Linked DNA regions of Homo sapiens: all the other regions are linked to region 1. The links are contacts of gene promoters, found by promoter capture Hi-C in blood cells and fetal thymus (Javierre and others, 2016). All regions are on one chromosome and are shown on one strand. Each heading gives the region's core, a stretch centred on a gene start or on the middle of the fragment in contact. The rest is flanking DNA. Distances are from core to core; before and after follow the strand shown. Region 1 holds the start of CYREN (cell cycle regulator of NHEJ). Region 2 overlaps CALD1 (caldesmon 1). Region 3 overlaps CALD1 (caldesmon 1).

Evidence for each region. Contacts are between HindIII fragments. The CHiCAGO score rates a contact against its expected background, and 5 or more counts as called.
Region 2: a contact is called between a fragment that was not itself captured here and the fragment with the promoter of CYREN in region 1, in 10 of 17 cell types (naive CD8 T cells, naive CD4 T cells, M1 macrophages and 7 more). The highest score is 7.8, in naive CD8 T cells.
Region 3: a fragment that was not itself captured here is called in contact with the fragment with the promoter of CYREN in region 1 in 11 of 17 cell types (total CD8 T cells, naive CD8 T cells, megakaryocytes and 8 more); the score reaches 12.4 in total CD8 T cells.

What each region holds. Positions count from the first base shown.
Region 1 is chr7:135,168,972-135,172,321 of GRCh38, reverse strand. CYREN (cell cycle regulator of NHEJ) reads left to right here and starts at 1,615. Exons shown (of 4, transcript NM_024033.4): 1 at 1,615-1,670; 2 at 3,262-3,350. RefSeq lists enhancers at 875-1,094, 3,175-3,304 and a silencer at 1,475-2,084. The HindIII fragment of the contact is 3,007 bases long and covers 358-3,350 here.
Region 2 is chr7:134,942,332-134,945,681 of GRCh38, reverse strand. All of the region lies in intron 7 of CALD1 (caldesmon 1), which reads right to left. Among named protein-coding and RNA genes, the nearest start is that of AGBL3, 43 kb to the left of the region's middle. The HindIII fragment of the contact is 2,404 bases long and covers 427-2,830 here.
Region 3 is chr7:134,960,570-134,963,919 of GRCh38, reverse strand. CALD1 (caldesmon 1) reads right to left here. Exons shown (of 15, transcript NM_033138.4): 13 at 3,292-3,350. Among named protein-coding and RNA genes, the nearest start is that of AGBL3, 24 kb to the left of the region's middle. The HindIII fragment of the contact is 8,794 bases long and covers 1-3,350 here.

The sequences.
Region 1 (3,350 bases), core at 366-2,865:
CAAAGTATCCAGCAATTCAAGTCAAGTCAAAACCAGAACAAGAGTGCCCATGCAGGCATGCTGTGGGTGATCAGGCCACGTTTCCACTCAGATGGAGTGGGGCAAGTTCCAAAGACTAGTCTTACCAAGTCAAGCCAAGTCAAAACCAGAACAAAAGTGCCAATACAGGCACACCGTGGGTGATCAGGCCACGCTTCCACTCACGTGGAGTGGGGCAAGTTCCAAAGACTAGTCTTACCAAGTCAAGCCAAGTCAAAACCAGAACAAAGATGTCAATACAGGCACACCGTGGGTGATCAGGCCATGCTTCCACTCACATGGAGTGGGGCAAGTTCCAAAAACTAGTCTTGACAAGCTTCAGATGTCTGGACTTCAAGTGCCAGTTCCTTCCCGGTGTTCAGCCAGTGTTAATCCTTCTCGGGAGCCTGCTATGCGCTGCTCTGGCAAGGCATTCCACCGGGGCCATTTCCTACCCGGGAGCGCTCTTTGGATTGCGTCAGTCAGGCTGGCCGGAGTCCTCTGCAGGGACGCTCCACAGGGCTTGTCAGTCACCTCGCTTCCTGGTCAGGGAACCAAGGACTGTAGCAGGACAAGCCACAGACAAAACCTCTCAGACACGGAGCTGTAGAAGAAAGGGCTTTATTCAGCTGGGAGCATTGGCAAGCTACTGCCTTAAAATCCGAGCTCCCCGAGTGCACAATTTCTGTCGCTTTTAAGAGCTCACAACACTAAAATTTCACATGAAAGGGTCGTGATTGATTTGAGCAAGCAAGGGGTACGTGACAGGGGCTGCATGCACCGATGGTCAGGGAGAAACAGAACAGGGCAGGGAGTTTCACAATGTTCTTCTATAGAATGTCTGGAATCTATGAATAACATCGGTTTCTAAGTCATGAGTTGATTTTTAACTACTAGGTTTAGGCCAGGCAGGCCCAGGTCCAGTTTTGGGCCTGGCGCTGGGCTGCCTGTCTTTGATTTCACTTCCTTTTTTTTTTAAAAAAAAAAAAAAAAACAGGTACTGAGTATAAAACAATATGAGAGGGTCTCTCTCTTCCCTCGCTTTAACTTTCGGAGGGCTGAAATTCTTTCTAGCCTTGGTTAATACAGCAATTCATTCCATTCTAGCTATTGTTATTTCTCTTACTATAATTTTACTATTAGTACTTACGCTATTCTATTATTTTCTTAATTTTCCACTTAATTAGGATAACAAACCGAGGCCGGGCTCCCATCCTCCTCAAGCACACGAGGGGGGCCTGGCCCAGCAGGGAGCTTCGCCTGGTTTCTGAGGGAATTCCCGGCGGGCCTTTCCAAAACATGCCCGTTCCCTTCCGCTAACTTCAGGGGCCAAGAATTGAACTTTCACCCTCCTCAAGCCGGTGGCGCTGCCTCGCTGGCGTTCCCAGCGCGCAGCCAACCGGATGCCAGCCGGCGGCATTACCACTGCCAGCATGGGGCGCCCGCGGACCTCCGACTGAGGCAGCTGCCGGGAGCCGGAAGTGTCCCGGGCGCCGGGACTGCGAGGGGGCCGGGAGTTCCCCAAGACCGGAAGTGTCCCGAGGCCGGGAGCCCGCGGGACCCCGGAGCGCGCGGGGCCGGAAGAGGCGGGCGGCCAGTGGAGGTCCGCAGAGTTTGGGCGCCAGGCGAGACGGCAGGGCTTAAAGTTCCGGGTGAGGCGTGGGTCCCACAACCGCTTGGAATTTGCCTCCCGGCTCCGCTCTGGAAGCTAAGAAGGGGCACGAGAGCCGGAGACGGGAACCTGAGAGCAGGGAAGCCAGTAGCCGGCCGGAGGAGCGCGCGGCCGCTCCAGTCGGAAGGAGCCGTTGCAGCCCTGCCCGGCGTGTGGCGGGGTCAGCGAGGCCCCTGCGGTGCTTCGCCCGCGCCTTCCGCTCCGCACTCACCCGCCCTCTGGGCCTCCCACAGGTCGGCGCCGCCAGCGGCGGGTACCGGCCCGCAGAGGGAGGGCGGGCTGTGAACTGGCAGCACATCGCGTTCCCGCGGGGCCCCCATTCTGCCCAGGCAGGGAGCGGCTGGGATGGGACTGAGGTCGGTCCGCGAGCGCGGTGCCCCAGAGACCCGGCTTCTGGAAGTTGCCGCGGCCTGCTCTTGGGGCCCAGAAGTAGGGCGGGGAGGCGCGGGGTCTGGAGTCTGCAGGACCTGGCTGCGAATCCAACCAGCTGATTTCAAACTTTTCTGTGATCTTCTGCAAGTTAACTAAGTCTCAGTTCCTCGTTTGCGAAATGTACTTAATAGGCACCCCAGGGTGAACTAAATTTGTCCGCACAGACTGCAGCATTGCGCTTGGGAGGCGCCTTAGGGGGTAGGAGTCACTAATATCACTGAGTTTTGACAGAAATGAAGGTGCATTGGCAAAGGTGTGCCCCATGGCCGGGCAGGTTAGGAGGAGGGCCTGGTAATATTTTTTCTTAAATTGTAAACAGCCATCTGGATGAGCAATGCATTATCAAATTATGATTCAGAGAGGACTATCGCTGACTACTCTTTTTTTTGGGCAAACCTCCGCTTCAGGAGCTTCTGGCTTGATTCCTAAGTGGAAGGTAGAGACCTAGGCCCTCTGAGTCACAACTCCATCTCTCTGGGTGAGGACTGAGCTCCAGGACTGCTGAGTGGAGGCAGAACAATTGGGATAGGGAAAAGAGAGGCCAAACTAGATCAGAGGCTGGCGTGGGCTTCAGAATCTACAGACTGGCACAGTTAATGCCTCCGGGCCCCTATTGCTGCTTCAAGTTTGACCAATCAGAAGTATCTTTAGCTTAAGGGCGGCGTGTTGGCCAATGAGACTTTATTGTGAAATAAAATGCCCTCAGTTTCATTTAACTGAGCCACCATAGAAGAGTAGAGAAATCGAGTTGGCCAGATGAGGGAGAGGCCATTAAGAGGTATTTTAGGGATTGAATGGGCTGGGCACCCAGAGGACAGTGGCATTTGGGGTGGTAATGAGAAGGAACATTAGGGGCCTCCGCCTCCTTCCGTTCCTCCTGTGCTGAGTCAGTCAGCACAGAGGCTGCAGGAGGTATCTCTGGTTGGCTTTGGCTGCCTGTAGGGGGCACCAGCTTTGGGGAGGTCAGAGGGCTCTCTCCTGAGCTGCTGTCCTGCCCACAATCACACCTGCCTGATGCCTGTGAATGGCCGTCTGAGTCTCTTGGGCCTTGGTCACTTCTGGCCTGCCCTGCACCGACCAGTAACTGTGCCTGATGACTGGAGGTATGGGAATTCACCGGACTTTATTGTTCTTTGTAGGAATCAAAGATCAACTCCCACTGAGGACAAATGGACCTGTAATTCCGGGTGTGACGAGAGAACGAGATTTACCTTCCTGAATTAAAAAA
Region 2 (3,350 bases), core at 379-2,878, 230 kb after region 1:
TTACTTACATGTCATTCTTTATGCTCTCTAAACCCTTTTCATATCCACTACTTCATTTAACAGTCACAATAACTGGGAAGATGTCAGGTTAGGTTTATTATCCCCATCTTACAAACAAGGAAACCACAGGTAAGACAGAGAATAATATACTCAAACTTTTGGAAGCTAGAAAGCAGTCGAGCCATGATCAGATTCTAATGCTTATCTATTAGTTGTACTCTTCTTGTAACTATAATTATACCTGAAATTAAATACGTTTTGTTATGAAACAATGAATAAACTGAAATAGAACATGTTATTCCATCTCTCCACCTCTTACCTCAAACCTTCAGGATAGAGTCTGAGAGAAGCGTTTCCTACCTCTGTCTCTAGAGTTTCTACAGTCTAGGTCTAGCTACCTTCCGTGCCTGAGATGAAGCAGAAGCTTCATCAGGTAGAACAGCTTATAAAACAGGAAGAAATGGGTACGTTTTTATGTAAGTAAGAACTAAAATTGAAATTATGTTGAATTTTCTTTTGTGATTAAGGAGGATACACAGGGATTTCATTGCAGAATTGGGAACATATTAAGACTTCAGACAGAATGCTATCCCAAGAGTCCTTATGGTAAAATTTTATTTTGGAACTGGTATTTTTAGTATTTTACACAACTATAAAAAGATGAAGACATATCATTAGCACCTACTGTGACCCCTGAGTTTCTTTAATAAATTTACTGTATGATACAGTTAGAACACTGATAATTTTAAAACATGTCGATACTCAAAGTAGAACTTCAGTAGAATGCAGAGTTTTCACTAACACAGAGTTCACCTAAGTTGGATTTGCCTGGGACTTCACTAAGCAGAATTTAGTGGCTTAATTTAGGCTTGAAGCCCTTGTTATAAGTAGTCTTTAAGAGACAGAGATACAGCTTTGCCATTTAAATACTTATTAGCAAGTAGTAAGGTCATTCTTAACTAGATGTCAACGTAGATATCCTATTCCTGACACTTTTGTCTAAGGAACAAAGGAATTATCACACCCTAACATCATTTACTACATGTAAAGAATGGTACAGTGTTTCTAGCTGTGAAACAAGAGGAAGAATAAAACAAGAAATGGGCTCAAGAAATACACTGTGCAATATTGATTTTATAATATATATATGTATATTATATATCATGCTTTTTAAACACTGAAGTAGTTCTGAATATCCTGTGTCCTCCAGAACAATAATTTTCAAGCTGCAGACCAGAAAATCAATTTAGTAGATTGTAATCAACATTTAAAAAAAAAAAAAACAGAAAATATCAGAGTGCACTGCATAGAGCAAAACAAAGTACCATTTCTTGACACACTTGTTTCAGTTATAAAAATATATACAGGTGTGTACTGGGTCATTATGTAAAATTTATTTCTTACTAAGGGCTTAGGTTAAAAAATTTAGAACTATTGGTCTAGGCTCATGCCAGTTACAGGTAAACTTTTATTTTGAACTCAAACAAGGTTAAAGGGTCCCTCAAAACCTTGCTGTCAAAGGCTCTTTCAGGGTCTTCTAGGTTCACAGGCCTGTGACTCCTCTCTCAGTCAATTTAGGGTCTTTCCTTCCAAAAATGAGTTTGCTCTCTCTTTGTGTTCATCATATTACTGTACAGGAACTGGACCGGCAAAACACATGCCTATAGAAACATCTATGGATTCCACTAGGTGTCACTCAGTCTTCATTTTGGACAATCAAAATGTCCGTCATTAGGGACTGGCTAAATAAGTCCTAATACATCCATCCAGTAGAATCTAATATCATTAATTATAGGCTTATATTTATTGGCATAGAAAGCAAGCTATGACACATTCTTATGCACAGTGCAAGAATCAATGTAAAATTATAAGTATACTCACACACGTATATACTACATATAAATATACACACGTGTGTGCATTTATCTTGAATATTATATACATAGATAAATATCTGGAAAAAGTGTTACTGCTAGTTATCTTTGGGTGGTGGGTGCTTATTTTTATTCTTCTATTTTCTGAGCGTTTTTATAATGAGTATTTTTTTCTATAATCGGAAAAAATCTTTTAATTTCTACCTTCAAAAATAAAAAATCAAAAAACCATTTTGCACTTTCTATAAAACCCTTGGTATAATTTGCATCGCTATATCTTGCTCATTGAATTGAGATTTTTATGTCATGTTTTAGAGAAAACGAGTTACAAGAAAATGCAGATATCAAAGGGAACAGTAATTAAATCACACATAAGCAGCTATGCTCAAAACAGGAGCAAAAGTTTTGTTCACACCACCTCTGCCTATGTGCATGACCTCAGCATTAGGGTGCCACTTAATGTGGAAATCGTTCCATAAAGTTCTTTCTCCCCGCACCCCACCCCCACCACCCTACCCCCGTCCTTGGCTTCCTTAGGTGTAAGTCAAGATGAGTATCAGGCCTTTGACCATTAAGAACACAGCTTGTTTTCAGTGAAGCTGGTAGGTACTAAACTTACCTAAATAGAGGCTAGGCGGATACTCTCTTCCTCTCTCCTCATTTTATATGTATATGGAGCAAAACTATACTTCTCTACTTCAATCAGCGTGAACTTCTAATTGAAACTAAAACTCACATACGTTGGTGGCTAAACAAAAATAAATAATATGGTAGCAGCTTGTTCCTGTATTTTTTTTTCCTGCCCAAAATAGAAAAATTAAGGCCAGAGTCACACGTAAGTGTTCTTAGCACTTAACTTGTCACCATCTCTTGTGACTATTCCTTTCTTCGAATTACCCAGCTTTTTGGATTTCTACACAATAGGCATGTTAATTATTAATTTGAGCTTTGAAGCTTGTTGGCAAGTTTGCTAATTGTTAAACAGACTTTTTTCTACTGACAGATTTTCTTAAACGTTATTTCTCTTAACAAAAAACTTATACCTTAAAAGAACCTTATGTTTACAAGACATCTTTTAAACTATTAAAAAATAGTAATATTAGGTAATATTCATTGAACACTTTTCATGAACCTAACACTATTCTAGGGCTTTAAAACATTAAACTACAGACACTTCAGCAAGTTTTAGACTCAACTTACCAACCTGAATCAACTCGCTTTGTAGATTTTCTATGAATGTTCAATAAACTTAATTTTCACATCTATTCTCTTGGCAATCCCAAGTAATATCTATAGATTCTACCTTTCTTACACCTTCATCATTTTATTTAGATCTTTTATGTACACCTTTTCTTCTGTGAGCTTTAGGTTCTCCTTTGGATAAATATGAATAGGTTTCTGCTTAAATTTACGTACAAAAAAATTGTTTTGGGGCAACCGTATTTATCCATCTTAGCCTCTTGGATGAGACTGAAA
Region 3 (3,350 bases), core at 249-2,748, 210 kb after region 1:
GCCACAAAGTCCCTTTTCTAGCAGCATTTTCCTCACCCTAAAATCATTATGTGTCTCCCGAGGGGCAAGTGGGTAATTCAGAAGTGGATCAGTAGAACCTAGCAAATATAAACATTCATCACAAATTGAACCCATGCGAGAAGTTGACAGTTGATGACATGTGTAAGAACATGTGGAAATCTTGGGATGGAAACACTAAAATATGATCGATAACAGTTATACAGCTTAGAGTCTTTATTTACTACCTCCTAATTAATTTCATTTGGATAAGGATCCAAATTTCTGTTTCAATTTACTTTTCTTCCAGCATTTGCTTATATTAGTACTTGGCAAAAGGTAGTTTGTAGAAAATAAATGTGTTTTACTGAAATAGTAATGCTTATCTTGGCAAACCCTTTTCTCAGGAGGAAGGCAAAGCTAACAGCAATTGCATTTACCCGTGGACACTGATCTAAATGGACATATTTCTGATAGATAGTATTGAGATTGTAACACTGAAAATGCACAGTTAAATGATACCTGTGAAGCATTTCAGATTTGCCTAAACTTTACTGAGTTTCTGGATTTCCTCTGTGGCATGAATTCCTGATATTCTATTAGAGAGTTACACCTATTTAACTTGGAGCCATTAAGCAACAAATCAGATTATTTTTGTAGAATTCCACTACATTTGCCAGCGTAGGTGGAAGCTGCCAAACTGTCTGGAAGACTGTTTTAAAATTTTGGAAACTATAATTAGGAACATGCTGAGGGAAGCTCTGGAAAGCAGCTATTATCGCTTTGTTTATTTGATTCATATGAGACAAATATTTTTCCTTCTCATGCACGTTCTTCTACCTAAGAAAATGGATTGCACTTCCCATAAATCCTGCCGATGAATCTTTCAAGATCACTTAAAGAGTTTAAAGAGTCCTTTTAAGAAAATATGAACATCTGAGTTATAAGTTGGCATTTTAAATCAAAGGGGAAATATAAATGGAATTACCTGACCAGACTACATTTTAGAGAAAGACCCACTCCGGAAGAAGAGGGAGAAATGAAGGCAGGAGAAGCAGGTTTCCAATCAACCAGAGACCAAAGAGTGAGGAACAGAAGGTCAGCTGAGAAAGACATTGTTGGTTGTTTTTTTTTAAACAAAAAGAAAGACAAATTAGCTTTTTAATTTCTGTGTAACATTAGTTTAGACACAAAGAATAGACAAACCAGCTCAAACAGACATACTCAGAATTGAATTGCAGTTACAAAGTTACACTGAAATCCTATAAATTCTACCCACAAATAGCAAGGGACATCCCAGTAGCAATCTGGTGTATTTACAACATTGATTTCATAGAACTTTCTTCCATCTGGTTCTCATTCAGGAAGCCACACTAGTCTACAAAATCTAATGGGAAGAAGGATCTCACTAAAATCTATACTAACTGCCATGTTCTTCTTTCCTTTTCTTCACCCTCTAGGGGGTGATCTAGCAAGTCACATACTAATTAGTAGGTAAAGCAGGCAATGATTTTGTAATTTCTCTGCAATGCCTTTTTTTTTTTTTTTTTTTTTTTAGGAGGCTGTCAATAACCCCAGAACATGGTGTATGTTTTGTTTTGTTTTTGCTGTGGAAACCTGGATACAGTTATACCTATCATAATCATAACTGCATTTTATCTTTTTAACCTCATTAGGATGTCATACAGATGATGGTAAACTTTTCAGTTTACAAGTTAAAGTGCTGATAAAAGAATAGGGGCCAAGTTCTGGATCAAATTTTTGAGTATAATCTGCTACAAAAATGAAAGATTGCAAATATCATAAACGTGCAAAAATTAGCATCTCCTCCAAATATTTCATACTTATCAAAGAGGGAAACATAGATCTTTCTCTCCTTACTTACTATCTTGAGAGTTACTCAGTAGGTCCATAGACTGCCTTGTTTTTTTATATGTATATTTTGGGGGAGAGGGTCCTTAAATTTCATTAGGTTTTAAAGGGGTTCATAATTCAAAAAGGGTTAATAATCACTGGTCTGGAACCAGTGATTATTTTGTTTTTGAAAATAATTTCTACTCCTTATGTTACCAGAGATGCTTGGAAAACTTGAGGCACTAAAGAGCACATAACTTTTGGGTCCGGTCTCTTGCCTCAACTGTGTCCTTTTATAAACCCGCATTCTTGTACCTATTGAGAGGGGGAGGAAAAGTTGCTTTTTTCAATGTATAAAGATTTTCCAATTGTAAATTGGGTTGACATTAGTGTATACCTCCTGTGAGCCTTTATGCAAAGAATCTCGGGGTGTAGATTAATTAAACGGTTCAAGGAGTTGTGCCCAAGAAGGATTTGTGAACATTTCCATTTCTTCCTTTTTAAATTGGAAAGTGACAAAATTTAATGACTTTGGAGATTATATATGGAGCCAACAAATGCAATTAAATGGCATGGAGCCAATGGATGCAATTAAATGCACAGAGGCCTAGGATTGGAAACTTTTTCTTCTTCCTCTAGAATGTAGGATTATGACAGTGGACTCTCAGCTCCCTTGGGCACCAACAAAGCTATAAAAGCAAACTTAACAGGGAAAGCTCAGCAATATACAGTGGGGAGCTTGATACGTTTTCTTATTATAATGACAAATGCAAGCAATTGTCGTATACATTCAACAAAAAGGTGAAAAGAAATGTACTTTTTAGTAAGATAGCTGCACTTAATAAATTAAGAAAATTTTAGATTCTCAAAAACATCATTCATAACCAGTTTTTCTAGTTTCCAGTTTTATGACTTTCCTCAGGAGGTGCTGACAACACAATTAGACCAATTATTTCAACAGCTACCCAATAACTGCATTTTTGTGCCAAGTTATAAAAATGAGGCAAATTGGAACATATGGGTTCCCAATAGGCAACATACATATTCTTTTGGGAATAAGTTTAGGGGTGCTCTTGACAAAGAAGTAGCCAAAATGATGTGACCTTTCATTTTCAAATTTCTATCCAGAATTTATAGAATAGAAGCTAAACAAATAGACGAGTAAAGGATCTAAATTTGAACTGCCTCAGTATTCTAGCTGATTCCTCCTCTCAGTTAGGGTGTAGAGGTGATTATTTGGTTCCATTTTACCCTCTGAGTAACTGAGATGCAGCTTCTTAGAACTGTTGTAAATCTGAACACTTTCCTGTTTGCTATTCATCAGGGAAAGCAAAGAACAGGGGCACTGCCATTCCTAGGTAAACAGACCAACTGCTTGTTTTCTTCTGCTGGTAGAAGCTGGGAGATCAAAGAAACTCAGAAAAACCTAAAGGTACTTACAGAAGGTTTGGGAGCAGGTGACTTGTTTCCATCTGGGGTTTTAGTTAGCCATTCATTGA